2 separate regions of the Homo sapiens genome follow, and region 2 is linked to region 1. The links are contacts of gene promoters, found by promoter capture Hi-C in human tissues and cell types (Jung and others, 2019). All regions are on one chromosome and are shown on one strand. The core of a region is centred on a gene start or on the middle of the fragment in contact, and the rest is flanking DNA. Distances in the headings are between cores, read along the strand shown. Region 1 holds the start of LAT2 (linker for activation of T cells family member 2). Region 2 overlaps LIMK1 (LIM domain kinase 1).

Region 1 (2,750 bases), core at 87-2,586:
CTCCTGCCTCAGCCTCCAAAAATGTTAGGATTGCAGGTGCAAGCCACTGCACCTGGCCTCTATCTCCCTGTTTCTTGCTCTCTCCCCATCTGTGTGTGTCTCTGACAGTCTGTGGCTCTCTGTATCTTTCTGTGTGTCTCTCTGTGTGTGTCTTGGTCCATCTCATGCCCAGCTAATTTTTAAATTTTTTGTAGAGATGGGGTTTCACCATGTTGGCCAGGCTGGTCTTGAACTCCAGACCTCAGGTGATTCTCCTGCTTCAGCCTCCCAAAGTGTTGGGATTACAGGCATGAGCCACCGTGCCTGGCCCATGGGTATGAATTTCTGCCTGTGTGTGTCTTCTTCTTTTTTTTTTTTTTTTTGAGATGAAGTCTTGCTCTGTCACCCAGGCTGGAGTGCAGTGGCGCTATCTTGGCTCACTGCAACCTCCACCTCCTGGGTTCAAGCAATTCTCCTGCCTCAGCCTCCCGAGTAGCTGGGATTACAGGCACCCGCCACCACACCCAGATAATTTTTGTATTTTTGGTAGATATGGGGTTTCACCATGTTGGTCAGGCTGGTTTTGAACCCCTGACTTCATGACCTGCCTGCCTTGGCCTCCCAAAGTGCTGGGATTACAGGCATGAGCCACCGCGCCCGGCCCATGGGTGTGAATTTCTGCCTGTGTGTGTCTTTTTAGCGTATGTGTGTCTCCATATCTGCCATCTGCAGGAGCACCTCAGTTTCATTATCTTGCTCCCTGTCTATTGGAGTGTATCTCTCTTCCTCTCTGTGTGACTTTTTGTGTTTATGTGTGTGTTTAGTGTGTGTCCATATTTTCCTGTTCTCTTGTGTCTCTCTGCTGTGTCTCTCTCTTTTTCTTTCTGTTTTTTGAGACGGAGTCTCCCTCTGTCACCCAGGCTGGAGTGCAGTGGTGCGATCTCGGCTCACTGCAACCTCTGCTTCTGAGGTTCAAACGATTCTCCTGCCTCAGCCTCCCGAGTAGCTGGAATTACAGACACATGCCACCATGCCCAGCTAATTTTGTATTTTTAATAGAGACGGGGTTTCACCATGTTGGCCAGGCTGGTCTTAAACTCTTGACCTTACGTGATCCACCCGCCTCGGCCTCCCAAAGTTTTTGGATTACAGGTGTGAGCCACCTCGCCCGGTCCTATCTCTCTTTCTTCTCTTTCTCCCTCTCACTTTGTTTCTCTTCTCTCTCTCTCTCCCGCCTCCTTCCCCCGTCTCCCCTCCCTTCCCCCCACCGCCCTCTTCATAGCTGAGCCTGTCCGGCAGTGCGGCGGATGTACGGATGATTCAGTGGCTGGCAGGAAGCCCGCCCTGCCCGCCCGCCAGTGTCAGTGGTGTTGGCATCAGCTTGGGCAGGTGTGCGGGCTCAGGATGGGGCGGCCGTGGTGAGGAACCCTGGACTCTCAGGTAAGCCTTTCCCAGGGGTGCCTCAGTCCTCAGGCTGTCCCCCATCCCCCAGGAGCTCCTGGCCCCACTGGGTGGGGTGGGAAGAGGCCTGGATGCCTGGCGCCCCCTCCCGCAGCCCCACTCTCACCCTGGCACCAGGCTCTGTGGCACTTCAGGGGTCAGTTTGTTTCTGGGCTTCTGGCCACTCTCTTGCCCTCGCCTTCCCCTGTCCAGCCTGTGTAGCCTTGGGACATCCCAGGGTGGTCCCATCATTGCCAGAGACTGGTGAAGTAAGTGGCCGAGAGCCAAAACAGTGGCTGCCCTGGCCTGGGAGCCTCGGTTTCCTCATCCGTGAAATGGGACTGTAACCCCCTACACAGGTCAGGGGAAAACGGTGGGATTACAGGCCAGGGCCCAGGTCTTGCCCCAGGTCAGGTGAAGAACCCCCACTGCCTCCCTGCCCAGCCCCCTACCTGGCCCTCAACTCTGTCCCTGGGACCAGGGCTGCTCAGGCCCCTCCTGCACCCGCCCGCCTCCCTCTCTCCCTCCCAGCTAGGCTCATTTGAAGCCCAGAGTTATTTGGAAAAAGCAACAGGACCAGCCGGGCACGGTGGCTCAACCTGTAATCCCAGCATTTGGGGAGGCCAAGGCGGGAGGATCATTTGAAGTCAGGAGCTGGAGACCAGCCTGAGCAACATAGTGAGACTCCCATCTCTTTAAAAAATAAAAATAAAAAAATATAATTAAAAACTAAATGAAAAAACCAACAGACCCCAGAGCAGAGTCCAGTGGATAAAGCCATCCAGGGCTTCAAGCCAGGCTGCCCCCTCCCCAACCCCAGTGTCCCCAACCACAGCTCAGCTCGGAGAAGGCTGGGAGAACCGGCAGGGTGGTCTCGAGCGTCCTTCCAGGCGGGATTCAGACACTGTAGCTCCTCCAGCCCAGCCCCGAGAACTTCCCCGAAGCCAGCTCTTGGCAATCGTTGTTCATATGAAAACTGCCCACTTCCCTTTAGTGCTATTTTGGCCTCTGCAGAACCGTGGTCTGTGGCAGCCCCCACTCCCCACCCCGCCCAGCCCTGCCGGCCCCTGGGGGCCTCAGAGGGTCCACCCTCCGCTCCCTCCACCTCAGCCCACCTGCTTTCAGAACCTGGATGGGAGAGTGAAAGTGAGAGCGAGACAGAGACACAAAGGGAGACAGAGACAGAGAGAGAGCACAGAATTTTTTTAAACGGAGTCTCACTCTGTTGTCCAGGCTGGAGTGCAGTGGCGTGATCTCGGCTCACTGCAACCTCCACCTCCCAGGTTCAAGCAGTTCTCCTGCCTTACCCTTCCAAGTAGCTGGGGACTACA
Region 2 (3,011 bases), core at 366-2,865, 120 kb before region 1:
AGGGCCAGAGCAGGGGTCTCAAAGGATGTGAGATTTCCTGGGTAGAAAAGTAGAGTGGAGGTGGGGCGTGGTGGCTCACACCTATAATCCCATCACTTTTTGGGGCTGAGGTGGGCAGATCACTTGAGTTCAGGAGTTCGAGACAAGCCTGGGCAATATGGCAACACCCTGTCTCCACTGAAAATACAAAAAATTAGCCGGGCGTGGTGGCGCATGCCTGTAGTCCCAGCTACTCAAGAGGCTGAGGTGGCAGGGTTACTTGAGCCTGGGAGGTGGAGGCTGCAGTGAGCTATGATCGCACCACTGCACTCTAGCCTGGGCAATAGAGCGAGACCCAGTCTCAATTTTTAAAAAAGAAAGAAAGAAAAACAAATGGTGTGGGAGAGAATTACAGGCATAGTCACCAAACAGCAAGGTTCAGGGGAGAAAACTCCATAAAAGGGTAGAAGGTGAAGCTTCTGGGATGCCCAGCAGGGGTCAAGACATCCACCACTAGGACTTTATTTTAGGCTTCTGCCTTGGTTTATTTTTTGGTTTTTGGTTTTTTTGAGACAGTCTTGTTGTGTCGCCCAGGCTGGGGAGCAGTGGCGCGATCCCTCCTCACTGCAACCTCCGCCTCCCAGGTTCAAGCGATTCTCCTGCTTCAGCCTCCCAAGTAGCTGGGATTACAGGTGTGCACCACCACGCCCGGCTAAGTTTTGTATTTTCAGTAGAGATAGGGTTTTGCCATGTTGGCCAGGCTGGTCTCGAACTCCTGACCTCAAGTGATCTGCCCGCCTCAGCCTCCCAAAATGCTGGAATTACAGGCATGAGCCACTGCACCTGGCCTCGGTTTGTTTTTTTGTTTCTTCTTTTCTTTTTTTTTACACAGGGTCTTGCTGTGTCACCCAGGCTGGCGTGCAGTGGTGAGATCATAGCCCACTGTAGCCTCCAGCTCCAACTGGTTCAAGCGATCCTTCTGACTCAGCCTCCCAAAGTGCTGGGATTACAAGCATAAGCCACCATGCCCAGCCTGTTTTTTCTTTTTTAGGAATAACGTCTAACGTTTTCTAACATTCAGTAAGGGACAACCCCTGTTCTAAGTACTTTGCATAGTTAGATATTAGTGCTGTCTTTGTTTTGCCAGAGAGAAAATTGGGACACAGAGAGGTTAATTCTCTTGATGAAAGTCACACAGCCAGTGAGTGAAATGAACACACTCAGTGTGGCTGAAAGGAGACAGACAGCATGCCCTGGGATTCTGCATCAGGTGCTCAGAAAGAGGCCTTCGGGGGGCAAGAGGGCTCTCAACAGGCAGAGGAAACCATCTGCACAGCGGTGGGATGGTGCGGACTGCTGAGGGAACAGGAACAGTTCCCTTGGAAGGAACAGAATAAGCTGAGGGATCCAACAAGAAACAAAGTTGAGACCGATTCGTGAAGGGCCTTGAATGCCAAGATAAGGAGTTTCAGAAGTCAGGATGGGGGTGGTGGCTCATCCCCGTAATCCCAGCACTTTGGGAGGCCGAGGCAGGCAGATCACTTGACCCCAGGAGCTTGAGACCAGCCTGGCCAACGTGGTGAAACCCCCGTCTCTACTAAATATTCAAAAATTAGCCAGGCATGGTGGCACATGACTGTAATCCAAGCTACTCGGGAGGCTAAGGAAGGAGAATCACTTGAACCTGGGAGGCGGAGGCTGCAGTGAGCTGAGATCACGTCACTGCACTCCAGCCTGGGAGACAGAGCGAGACTCCATCTCAAAAAAAAAAAAAAAAAAAAATAGAAGGGAGTCGGCAGAAAGCCAGGGAGGGGCTGGGGTGACATGCTGTTGAAGAATGCCATCCCAGTGGGCCGGTGGTGGTATCTAGGCAGGGAAGGGACTGTCCCAGTAACTCAAGGGTCTGAGCTCATAGGACCTGACCTGGGACAGTGACTGAGGATGGAGAGAATTTCAGGCAGAAGGGACAGTTTTTGGTGAGTATTTGTCATATTGGCTACCATGCATTGAGCACTCTTCATGCTAATTTGTTAAATCTTCATCATAACTCTATGAGGGACTGTATGTGCCCAGTTTGCATGGGAGAAACAGAGATTCCATGCAATCAAGTGCCTCGCTGAAGGTTGTAACATCTAGAGCTGGGACTAAAACCTTCTCACTCCACATCGCCACAGAGTAGGAAAGGCAGGGGCTGGCGGTGGCACATGCCTATAATCCCAGCCCTTTGGGAGGCGGAGGCAGGTGGATCTCTTGAGCCCAGGAGTTTGAGACCAGTGTGGGCAACATAGTGAAACCTTGTCTCTACAAAAAAATTAGCTGAGCATGGTGGTGGTGCCTGTAGTCCCAGCTACTCAAGGGCGCTGACATGGGAGGGTTGCTTGAGCCTGGGAGGTGGAGGTTGCAGTGAGCTATGATCACACCACTGCAAGCCAGCCTGGGTGACAGAGTGAAATCCCATCTCAAAAAAAAGAAAGAAAGGAAGAAAGAAAAAGACAGGGGCTTCGGGGAGGGCATGGGCACTGGCGAATGGCAGGGTGGAACCTGAAGCCATCTGGTTTTCTAACCTGGGCACTGGGGAGTTGGTGGTTTGTTGACTCTGATGGAATTGGGGGTCATGTTGGGGAGGAGACATGCTCATCTGTGTTGAGCTGGAGGGGACATGGGCTATCCATGGTGGCTGTGTCCTGCCCAGAGCTAGCCATGGGAGCCTGAGTCCAGTTGGAGGTAGGAAAGTCAGAAAAAACGGCCGCCTCGGAGCTGGCCCTGAGATGGTGAGTGGGATTTGTGATAGGGCCAAGACGAATGAAGGGAAGAACTTTGGGGACCCCTGTGTCTGCGGTGAGGGGGGAGATGGAGCCTTGGGTGATGGAGAGAGGGTCAGGAGTAGAGCCACAGAAGCCACAGGAGGGAAGCCGTGTTACAGGATGGGTGTACCTGGCTTTGGAGTGGCCTGTCCCAAATCACTCACCAGGAGAGGGGTGAGTCCCCAGGTCAGGGCAGTAAAGAGGAGGCATGTTTGTGCTGTCCCTGGT

The links. Contacts are between HindIII fragments. The study calls those that stand out against the background at their distance.
Region 2: a fragment that was not itself captured here is called in contact with the fragment with the promoter of LAT2 in region 1 in 4 of the 25 tissues and cell types used here (aorta, dorsolateral prefrontal cortex, lymphoblastoid cells and 1 more).

The regions. Positions count from the first base shown.
Region 1 is chr7:74,208,670-74,211,419 of GRCh38, forward strand. LAT2 (linker for activation of T cells family member 2) reads left to right here and starts at 1,337. Exons shown (of 14, transcript NM_032464.3): 1 at 1,337-1,419. RefSeq lists enhancers at 821-930, 2,151-2,270 and silencers at 1,211-1,260, 2,371-2,460. The HindIII fragment of the contact is 33,709 bases long and covers 1-2,750 here.
Region 2 is chr7:74,087,062-74,090,072 of GRCh38, forward strand. All of the region lies in intron 2 of LIMK1 (LIM domain kinase 1), which reads left to right. Among named protein-coding and RNA genes, the nearest start is that of LIMK1, 4.8 kb to the left of the region's middle. The HindIII fragment of the contact is 4,301 bases long and covers 1-3,011 here.